Regions from separate parts of the Homo sapiens genome. Here region 1 is linked to region 2. Evidence: promoter capture Hi-C in 16 types of primary human blood cells and fetal thymus (Javierre and others, 2016). All regions are on one chromosome and are shown on one strand. The core of a region is centred on a gene start or on the middle of the fragment in contact, and the rest is flanking DNA. Distances in the headings are between cores, read along the strand shown.

Region 1 (4,989 bases), core at 621-3,120, 430 kb after region 2:
CTGCTCTACTTACTATCTTGTGCACACATGGTTACCTGACAAGCACCTAATCACCTTTCAACATTCAGCTCCAATATCAACTATTCCACAAAGCTTTTATACCTACCCCCTTTACACTACTACCTACATCATATATTGCACCCATAACAATTTCTTTATTTTATTATTTCTTTATTTATTGAGACGGAGTCTCTCTCTGTCACCCAGGCTGGAGTGCAGTGGCATGATCTTGACTCACTGCAAGCTCCGCCTCCCAGGTTCATGCCATTCTCCTGCCTCAGCCTCCCGAGTAGCTGGGATTACAGGCGCCTGCCACCACGCGTGGCTAATTTTTTATATTTTTAGTAGAGATGGGGTTTCACCATGTTAACCAGAATAGTATCAAATTCCTGACCTCGTGATCTGCCCACCTTGGCCTCCCAAAGTGCTGGGATTACAGGCATGAGCCACTGTGTCCAGCCCCTAACAATTTCATTTTTAACTAAACTGAAGGGAGCACATCTGATCTCTACCACCTAGCACAGTCTTTTGCACATATTGGTACTCATTAAAGCTTTGTTCAAGGAAAGAATAGATATTTTAGTCTTTCAATTGATCCTCAGAACAAACCTGTGCTATAGGTAAGGTATTCTCCAAGTTTTAGACATTAATAAATATTTGGTTATCCTCTGTGTTAGCCTGTTCATATTGCTATAAAGGAATACCTGAGACTGGGCAATTTATAAAGAAAAGAGTTTTATTTTGGCTCACAGTTCCGTAGAGTGTACAAGGAGTATAATGCTGGTATCTGCTTCTGGTGAGGGCCTCAGGAAGTTTACAATCATGGCAAGAGGAAAGGAGCCAGCATGTTACATGGTGAGAGAACAAGAGAGAGAGAAGAAAGAGGTGCCAGGTTGTGTTTATTTGTTTGTTTAAGACAGAGTCTTGCTCTGTCACCCAGGCTGGAGTGCAGTGGCGCGATCTCAGCTCACTGCAACATCTGCCTCCTGGGTTCAAGCGATTCTCCTGCCTCAGCCTCCTGAGTAGCTGGGACTACAGATACGTGCCACCACACCTGGCTAATTTTTGTATTTTTAGTAGAGATAGGGTTTCAAGATGTTGGCCAGGATGGTCTCCATCTCCTGAAATTGTGATCTGCCAGCCTCAGCCTCCCAAAGTGCTGAGATTACAGGCATGAGCCACCATGCCTAGCCCCCAGGTTCTTTTAATCCAGATCTCATGTGAAATCAGAGTGAGAACTCATTCATTACCACAAGGGCAGCACCAAGACATTCATGAGGATCCACCCCCATGACCCAAACACCTCCCACTAGGCCCACTTCCGATACTGGCGGTCAGATTTCAACATGAGATTTGGAGGGGACAAAACATCCAAGCCATATCATGCTCCAAAAGTTTGTTTAGAGGGATGTTGGCTTCTCACAGGAATCCCATTCTGATTCACTCCAAATGAAGTCCATCAATGTTTATCCAACTCATAACATACATGCACATACAGGAATCTGCTATGAGTTTTTATAATATTAATAGGAAAGATAATTAATTTGGGAATCTGAATTGCATTGTTCAAACTTCTAGTGATCCTAAAGGGAGGGCATTACAGAAAGGAAAGTTGTTTCTTGTAGCATAGCTCTTTTGAGTGTTGTTGCACCACATTTCAAAATGATGGGTATTAGAGTAATACAAGGTACCAGGCTAATAATACTGCTGGTGATAGTGGTAAAGGGTCATTGCTCTTAAATAAAAGCTAAATTTAAAAGCTGCATTGCTTATATATGACTTTGTATGGAGCTCTCTAAACTTAACCCCCTTTCTTTCACTCATTCAAACAACTGCTTTTATAATTTTGGATAACATGAATTCTTAAAAACATACTTATGCTATATCAAATAAGACTGTCCTATAGGGTCACCAGTGTGTGTATCCCCGAAGCCAACAGTACTCCTACCTACATAGTTGCGGCTCTAGCAACAGAAGTCAGGTGTCAGGACTGCAAAATGCACATGACAGAAATAAAGACATGAGTGACTATGACTGCCAAAGGAATCTGGATTGTTTCCTTCACCACAGTGTTCTTCCATAGTGAGACCCTGAAAATAATAGGCTGGGGGAGGGTAGAAGATAACAAACAGATTTGCAAGTCCTTCACCTATAATGAGAATGGATAATTCAATTATATGCCAGAAGAAAAAGCACAACCCCGTTCAGTATTAATTGTGCTGGAACTTCCACCATAAGTCTGGGTCCAGTCAATGGGGTAATTTCCAATATCCTAAAAGAACTAAGATTGATAACCAAAAGGAAAATGTTTCCCTCTAGAAGATAGTTATGCTTCTCCTCAGGAGTAGAAATCACTGTAGCAGAGGACAAAATGAGGCCATGAAATCTGGTTAAGCCAGACTGGATGCCTAGAGGGTAGCTGAGGAACAAATGGAAGCTGCAGCAGGACAAAGACCCAGCCAGTACTAAAAGCTGGGTCCATGAACAGCTTCTTGAAATGGTGTGTGGTCGTGCTTAGCTGAGCATGCTGTGGGACTCATGATGTTGGAAAATGAGGGGGCAATGAAGACTTAAAGATGGGATGGAAAAACAGCTAAAAAAAACAAAACAGAAGGGGAACAAGAAACAAAACAGAAAAAAAGCTGGCCACGGTAGCTCATGCCTGTAATCCCAGCAATTCAGGAGGCCAAGGTGGGAGAATCACTTGAGGTAAGAAGGTTGAGACCAGCCTGGGCAACATAGCAAGATCCTTGTCTCTACAAAATTAAAAAAAAAATTAGCTGGGCATGATGGCACACATCTGTAGTCCCAGCCATTCAGGAGGCTAAGGTGGGAGGATCACTGGAGTCCTGGAGCTCAAAGGTGCAGCAAGGTATGATTATGCCACCGCACCCCAGCCTGGGCAACACAACCAGACCTTGTCTCAGAAAAAAAACAAAAAAAAATGGGGGCAGGTAGAGAAAAAAGTATTTCCAGAATTTTTTACAATTAAAACATATATCTAGCTATTAAAAGTAATGACAGCAAAAAGATTTCCAAATCAATTCCCAAAGCATTTCTCTCATCTCTTCTGAAAACGTCTGAAAAGACAACTATAAAGATGAAATAGAAGTTAAAGCTAAACAAGGCAATAGCGCTAAATATGTAATTTCAGTAACTCAGAATTTGCTCCATCCTCTGCTCTAAAAAAGCTTAGCTACAGAAGAGCAGTTACCTTTGAAACTTTTTCCCCAACATAAAGATATCCAGAATGTGAAGCTGCCATTAAAAATATTGCCATAGGCTGGGCGCAGTGTCTCATGCCTGTAAACCCAGCACTTTGGGAGGCTGAGGCATGTGGATCACAAGGTCAGGAGATTGAGACCATCCTGGCTAACACGGTGAAACCCCATCTCTACTAAAAACACAAAAAAATGAGCCAGGCACGGTGACAGGCACCTGTAGTCACAGCTATTTGGGAGGCTGAGGCAGGAGAATGGAGTGAACCCAGCAGGCGGAGCTTGCAGTGAACAGAGATCACGCCACTGCACTCCAGCCTGGGGGACAGAGCGAGACTCTGTCTCAAAAAAAAAAAAAAAAAAAAAAAGTCCAATGGCAATTTAGATTATAAAACATGGGAAGTAAAATAAAACTTATATTTGTTAAACTAAGTTGTATTTAAACTAAGTATTAAACTTAGTGCATCAGTCTTGAAGAAAGCTCATGCCTAAGACTTTCCTTTGAACTCAAATCTAGACAGCTGGGCTCTCTGACCTCACAGAGCTTCCCATGATTTCTTCCTCCAACATCTGCCATGATATCTCTTCCTACTGTGGTTCTGCACTATATTACGACAAGCGACTTGTTTATTTCAAGGGATCAACATTAATTACAGAGGCTATAAGGAAGCCGAATGTAAAAATACCAAGAACTCAAAAACTTCCAACTCCAGAGAAGAATGACATTTTAATTCTAAAAATCCTAAAGCAGATTGAAAAAAAAAGTGTAAAAACTCATGCAACACACATGTGAACAAGACACAATGAAAAACTGCTAGTAATCCTTTTACCACAAGTCTGAATGTGGCCTTTAGAAAGCATTTAGGGAAATTCTACTCGACTGTGCTCACACCCCTTCAAATCAAAGAACTCCCAAGCACTTGCATAAGTGCTGTATCTCTGGAGTCTAGAGTCTTACAAATCAAAGTGGAGTCCACAAGCCAGCAGCAGATTATGCAGAATTTCAGGCCCCGCCCCTATTTTCTGAGTCAGAACCTGCATTTCACAGGGTGCCCAGGTGATTTCCTAAACATGAAGGTTTGAGAAGTGCTCCTCAATGTTTAGCAGTGACTAAATGCTGAAATCCACTAGAGAGCATCACAAAACTCCAATGACGAGGCTGTACCCCAACCAGATTAATTCAGAATCTCTGGAGCTGGGATCCACTGTCAGCACTCATTAGGTCTTTTCTTTTTATTTTTTTTCCTTTTTTGAGACAGAGTCTCGCTCTGTGGCCCTGGCTGCAGTGCAGTGGCACGATCTTGGCTCACTGCAACCTCTGCCTCCCAGGTTCCAGTGATTCTCCTGCTTCAGCCTCCTGAGTAGCTGGGATTACAGGCAGGCACCACCACGCCCAGATAATTTCTATATTTTTTAGTAGAGACGGAGTTTCGCCATGTTGGCCAGCCTGGTCTCAAACTCCTAATCTCAGGTGATCTGCCCACCTCTGCCTCCCAGACTGCTGGGATTACAGGCGTGAGCCACTGTGCCTGGCCTGTCAGCACTCTTTTAAGTTCCCCATGGATCCCAGTGAGCAGCCGAAGTTGACAGCCTTTGTTCTAGGACAAGCTTGTCCAACCCGTGGCCCATGGGCCACACACAGCCCAGTATGGCTTTGAATGCGGCCCACCACAAATCTGTAAACTTTCTTAAAACATTATGGGATTTATGCATGAACCTTTTTTTTTTTTTTTTTTTAGTTCATCAGCTATTGTTAGTATTAGTGCATTTT
Region 2 (5,124 bases), core at 1,802-4,301:
TTGGAGCCACGATGGATTGGGGGGGCGTTGCCCTCTGATCTGAAAGTTAGAGAATGAGGGAGTTTAGTGTCTTTGGAGCCTCCTTAGGGAGCCAGCCCAGGACCTTCCTCCTCCCATGGGTCTTGATCTGCTCCTCACCCCTACACTGCCAGCGTGCGGCCACCTTGGAGATGGAGCAGCAGGAGCACGACGCCGTGCCGGGAATAGGGAAGCAGTGTGAGGACCACAAGACAGGTCCCCCAGCCTGGGTTTAATTCCAGGATCTGCTGCTGGGAGCTTGGGCAAGCACCCAGCATCTCCACGCCCAGCTTCCTCACCTGATAAGACCAGGGGAATAGCACCTACACTGCACCAGGATTGCAGGAGAATGGAGTAAAACAGCACACACAATACTCCTGGCACAAAGCAAGTAATAAATGAGTGTGCCTCCTGCCATACAGGAACCGAGGACTGGAGAGCTAGTCATGAGCCCAGAGATACCTGGCTTCATGCTCAGGAACAGCCATGTGGGCCAGAGGGCTGGAGATGTGGTCTGCACCTTGAAGGCCCTGGGAAAGTTCCTGTCCTCTATGATTCCTCTGTTCTTCAGCCACTAGACATAAAAAAAAATTGTCCTTCAAGTCCTCCTTCCTCCTTTCTTTAATCAGACAGGGGAAATAGCATGTGCATAAATAATAATTGTTTTGTAGGCTGGGAGACTGCCCCTTTAAGAGCCTCATAATGGGAGAGTCAGAAGAGCCCAGAGGTCTCAAACGGAAATGACTGGAGAACCAGCAAGTGGCATAAGTGTGTGAAGTCAGCTGGGGCGAGATTGGGATGTGCTGGAGAGTGTGCATGTACTGACGAAAGGCCATCAAATACAATTTAAAATAATTAGCCCACTCCAAAGAGTCTTCTGCAGCACGCACTTCTGCTAAGGGCTGCAGTGAGTGGGCTCTCACCTCAACCTGAACCAGACGGAGGCTGAGGCTGGGCCCCACTGAGGGGCTGTGACTTGCCCAAGGTCATCCAGGGCCAGGCCTGTGCCCACATTGGGACTCTTTTCCTCCCTCAGACAGAGGGCACTTCAGTCACTGCAGAGCAGGTGGCAGCAGCCCTTCAGTGGATGAGTTTCTCCTTTCCCAGGGTGACTGGGTGGGTGAAGGAATTGAGCAACAGGTGGCCAGGCTGCCGCCTCTCACCCTGACACATTGGTCCCCATCCCCTCATCCTACAGCCATCTCAGGGACAGATGGAGACATTCCAATGCCCTCCGGGTCCTCCACCAACCCAGACAGAGCCTGGAGTCACAATGCCCACCTAGCCAGAGGGATCAGCCAGCTAGCCAAGTGCCCCCTGTGTCTTTCATCTGTTCTTCACAAGACCCACAAGTGAAAAATGAGGATAAACCGCACATTCTACACACGATAACAACATAGCAAGTCCTTATACTGCTCTTACTGTGTGCCCGGCCCCCTTAGCAGTAGGTACTATTATTATTCAATTTTACAAAGAAACTAACTGAGGGACAGAGAGGCAAAGTAATTCCCTGCAGGTACTCTAATGAGTACGTGGCAGAGCTGGGAGCCATCCTGGTTGTCTGCCTCGAAAGACCACACTCTTTGCACTGCATCGCGGCACTTCCTGCGGGGTGGGGGGCACAATGGGAGAAGCATCTGCGTCTAATGCTGCTTTACTTTTGAGGCCAGAAAAATGGGAAGGCTCCCCTCTGACTCTGGAAGAGAGACGCAAACCGTAATCTCAACAACACAATCCCCACCTCCAACCTCAGCCGCCCTGGAGCCTCTCTCCCGCCAGTCCGCCCACTGGAACACGGGTTCCATGTGCCATCCAGGGTCAACGCCGCTCTGGGGACGCGTCAGGCCCAGCGCACAGCCTGGGCAGCTCAGCCTGTCAGCTGAGCACGGGCGCCTCAAGGGGTGCGGCCCTCTCAGAAGGAAGGTGAGTCTCCCTGGAGCCCCTGACGACAGCGAAGCGGCTGGGCGCTCTCCGGGGAGTGGGCGCGGCACCCAAGAAGGGTTTCTTACAGTTCCAAGAGAGGACCCCAGCCACAGTCACTCCAGAGCCCACCCGGGGCTTGGAGGAGGCTCTGGAAAATGAGGGATGGGGGAGTGTGCAGAACAGGGGGCGGAGGCTGGCAGGAGCCGAGGGAGGGCTTGGTCGGGTGCGAAGAGTGCCTGGGAGGAGTTAGAGTGGGGAGGGGGTGCGGCGGCGGGGAGAGAAGAGGCGGAGCTGGGGGACCAGACCGCTAAAGGAGAAAGGGGGATTCCAGGCAAGGGGAATGTGGCCAGGCAGTGCGGGAGGGCGGCAGCGGCCAGGCTAATATTCGCGACCCCGACTGGGGCGCGGCAACTTCTGCCCTCAGTCCCCACAAGCTCCCGGCCGCGATTCGCGGCCGAGAAATTCTGCGGAGGGGCCGGTGGGTCAGAGCCAGGCCAGGCAGTTGCTGAGCCTTCCCCTCCCCTCCTGGCGGGAGTGTGTGTGCAAGGGGCCAGGGGGCGGAGTCGGAGAAAGGGTTGGGGGTGTCCGTGTCCAGCGCTCCTCCGGACGCGGCTCCACAATCCAGCTGCGAGAACAGATGGACGCAGCGGCGGCTCACCTCGGGGGCTTCCTGCTCGCTGTGCGCCGAGGTCCAGGCTGAAGCGGAGATCGCAAGCCTCTGGCTCCCGCCTCTCCCAAGGGGCCTCGAGGAACCGGCTGCCGCGCCCCCTTCCCCAAGAGGAGAAGAGCGGGCGCTGACCCCGCGAGTCCTAGAACCGCGGGCGGGGGGCAGGCAGGGGGCGGGGGGCAGAGGGCCAGCTACCGGCGCGGAACGCCCATCCCAGGGGCTGGTTCAAGACTTCCACACCGAGAGCCCTTCCTGGGCCTCCAGCCCTGGAGCATCTGGAGAGCGGACCCCTGCCCGGCCACGCCCCGCCCCCGGCCCCCGCCCCGCCGACGTCGCATTAGCATGAGCGACGTAAGTGGCCCGGGCACCACTCGGGGGCTGGGACTCGCCGCGTCACAGCCCCGAGTGGAAGGGAAAAAAAAAGAGGAGGCGGCGGAGGAGGCAAGAGCCGACGCGAGGGGAGGGGAGCGCAGCGGCGGGGCTAACGGGCGGGCAAGCGGGCGGGCGGCAACAGCATGTCCCTCGGCCAGCGCGGGCGGCCTCTTAGCGCGGCGGGGGCTGCTCTGGGCGCGCCCCGGGCGAAGTGCGCCCAGTCTCCGGCCCCGGCCCCTCGGCGCGCCCGACTTCCCGGCCGCCCCTGAGCCCAGCAGCCGCGGGTCCCGGGATCGGCTAAGAGTAGCTGCAACGCCTCGCCGGACGGAGTCCTTTCCTTTCCCGGGACGCTGGGCCATGAGCTCCGCGGCCACCTGAGGCACAGGGGAGTCTGCTCGGCCAGGACAGCCTCCCCGAAGTCCCGTGCCCTCGCCTCTGCACTGCGGGACGCCAGCGCTCGGCCCTGGCGGAGGCGTCCTCGGAAGAGCATCGGGGTGGGGGCATGGAATCCGCGGAACCTGCGGGCCAGGCCCGGGCGGCGGCCACCAAGCTGTCGGAGGCTGTGGGCGCGGCGCTGCAGGAGCCCCGGCGGCAGAGGCGCCTGGTGCTTGTTATCGTGTGCGTGGCGCTGTTACTGGACAACATGCTGTACATGGTCATCGTGCCCATAGTGCCCGACTACATCGCCCACATGCGCGGGGGCGGCGAGGGCCCCACCCGGACTCCCGAGGTGTGGGAGCCCACCCTGCCGCTGCCCACTCCGGCCAATGCCAGCGCCTACACGGCCAACACCTCGGCGTCCCCGACAGCTGCGTGGCCAGCGGGCTCAGCCCTTCGGCCCCGCTACCCTACGGAGAGCGAAGACGTGAAGATCGGGGTGCTGTTTGCTTCCAAGGCTATCCTGCAGCTGCTAGTGAACCCCTTGAGCGGGCCCTTCATCGACCGCATGAGCTACGACGTGCCGCTGCTGATCGGCCTGGGCGTCATGTTCGCCTCTACAGTCCTGTTCGCCTTCGCCGAGGACTACGCCACGCTGTTCGCGGCGCGCAGCCTGCAGGGCCTGGGCTCAGCCTTCGCCGACACGTCTGGCATAGCCATGATCGCCGATAAGTACCCGGAGGAGCCGGAGCGCAGTCGTGCACTGGGCGTGGCGCTGGCCTTCATTAGCTTCGGAAGCCTAGTGGCCCCGCCCTTCGGGGGCATCCTCTATGAGTTCGCCGGCAAGCGCGTGCCCTTCTTGGTGCTAGCTGCCGTGTCGCTCTTTGACGCGCTGTTGCTGCTGGCAGTGGCCAAACCCTTCTCGGCGGCTGCACGGGCTCGGGCCAACCTGCCAGTGGGCACTCCCATCCACCGCCTCATGCTAGACCCCTACATTGCCGTGGTGGCCGGCGCGCTCACCACCTGTAACATTCCCCTCGCCTTCCTCGAACCCACCATTGCCACGTGGATGAAGCATACGATGGCGGCTTCCGAGTGGGAGATGGGCATGGCCTGGCTGCCGGCCTTCGTGCCTCATGTGCTGGGCGTCTACCTCACCGTGCGCCTGGCGGCGCGCTACCCACACCTGCAGTGGCTGTACGGCGCGCTTGGGCTGGCTGTGATCGGCGCCAGCTCGTGCATCGTGCCCGCCTGCCGCTCCTTCGCGCCGCTAGTGGTCTCACTATGCGGCCTCTGTTTTGGCATAGCCCTAGTCGACACAGCACTGCTGCCCACGCTCGCCTTCCTGGTGGACGTGCGCCATGTCTCAGTCTATGGCAGCGTCTACGCCATCGCCGACATCTCCTATTCGGTGGCCTACGCGCTCGGGCCCATAGTGGCAGGCCACATTGTGCACTCGCTGGGCTTTGAGCAGCTCAGCCTTGGCATGGGACTGGCCAACCTGCTCTATGCTCCCGTCTTGCTGCTGCTCCGCAACGTGGGCCTCCTGACGCGCTCCCGTTCCGAGCGCGATGTGCTGCTTGATGAGCCACCGCAAGGTCTGTACGATGCGGTGCGCCTGCGTGAGCGTCCTGTGTCTGGCCAGGACGGCGAGCCTCGCAGCCCGCCTGGCCCTTTTGATGCGTGCGAGGACGACTACAACTACTACTACACCCGCAGCTAGCATCCCCACTCCTCCTCCAGCCCACCCAACCGCCTTGGGTCAA

The links. Contacts are between HindIII fragments. The CHiCAGO score rates a contact against its expected background, and 5 or more counts as called.
Region 1: a contact is called between a fragment that was not itself captured here and the fragment with the promoter of SLC18A3 in region 2, in 1 of 17 cell types (erythroblasts). The highest score is 6.5, in erythroblasts.

The regions. Positions count from the first base shown.
Region 1 is chr10:50,041,299-50,046,287 of GRCh38, forward strand. It overlaps the pseudogene FAM21EP. Among named protein-coding and RNA genes, the nearest start is that of WASHC2A, 24 kb to the right of the region's middle. The HindIII fragment of the contact is 2,638 bases long and covers 552-3,189 here.
Region 2 is chr10:49,607,259-49,612,382 of GRCh38, forward strand. SLC18A3 (solute carrier family 18 member A3) reads left to right here and starts at 3,052. Exons shown (of 1, transcript NM_003055.3): 1 at 3,052-5,124. The coding sequence starts at 3,483. The coding sequence ends at 5,081. It also overlaps a transcript of CHAT not described here. RefSeq lists a silencer at 1-19 and enhancers at 1,389-2,184, 2,185-2,979, 4,024-4,920, 4,921-5,124. The HindIII fragment of the contact is 17,270 bases long and covers 1-5,124 here.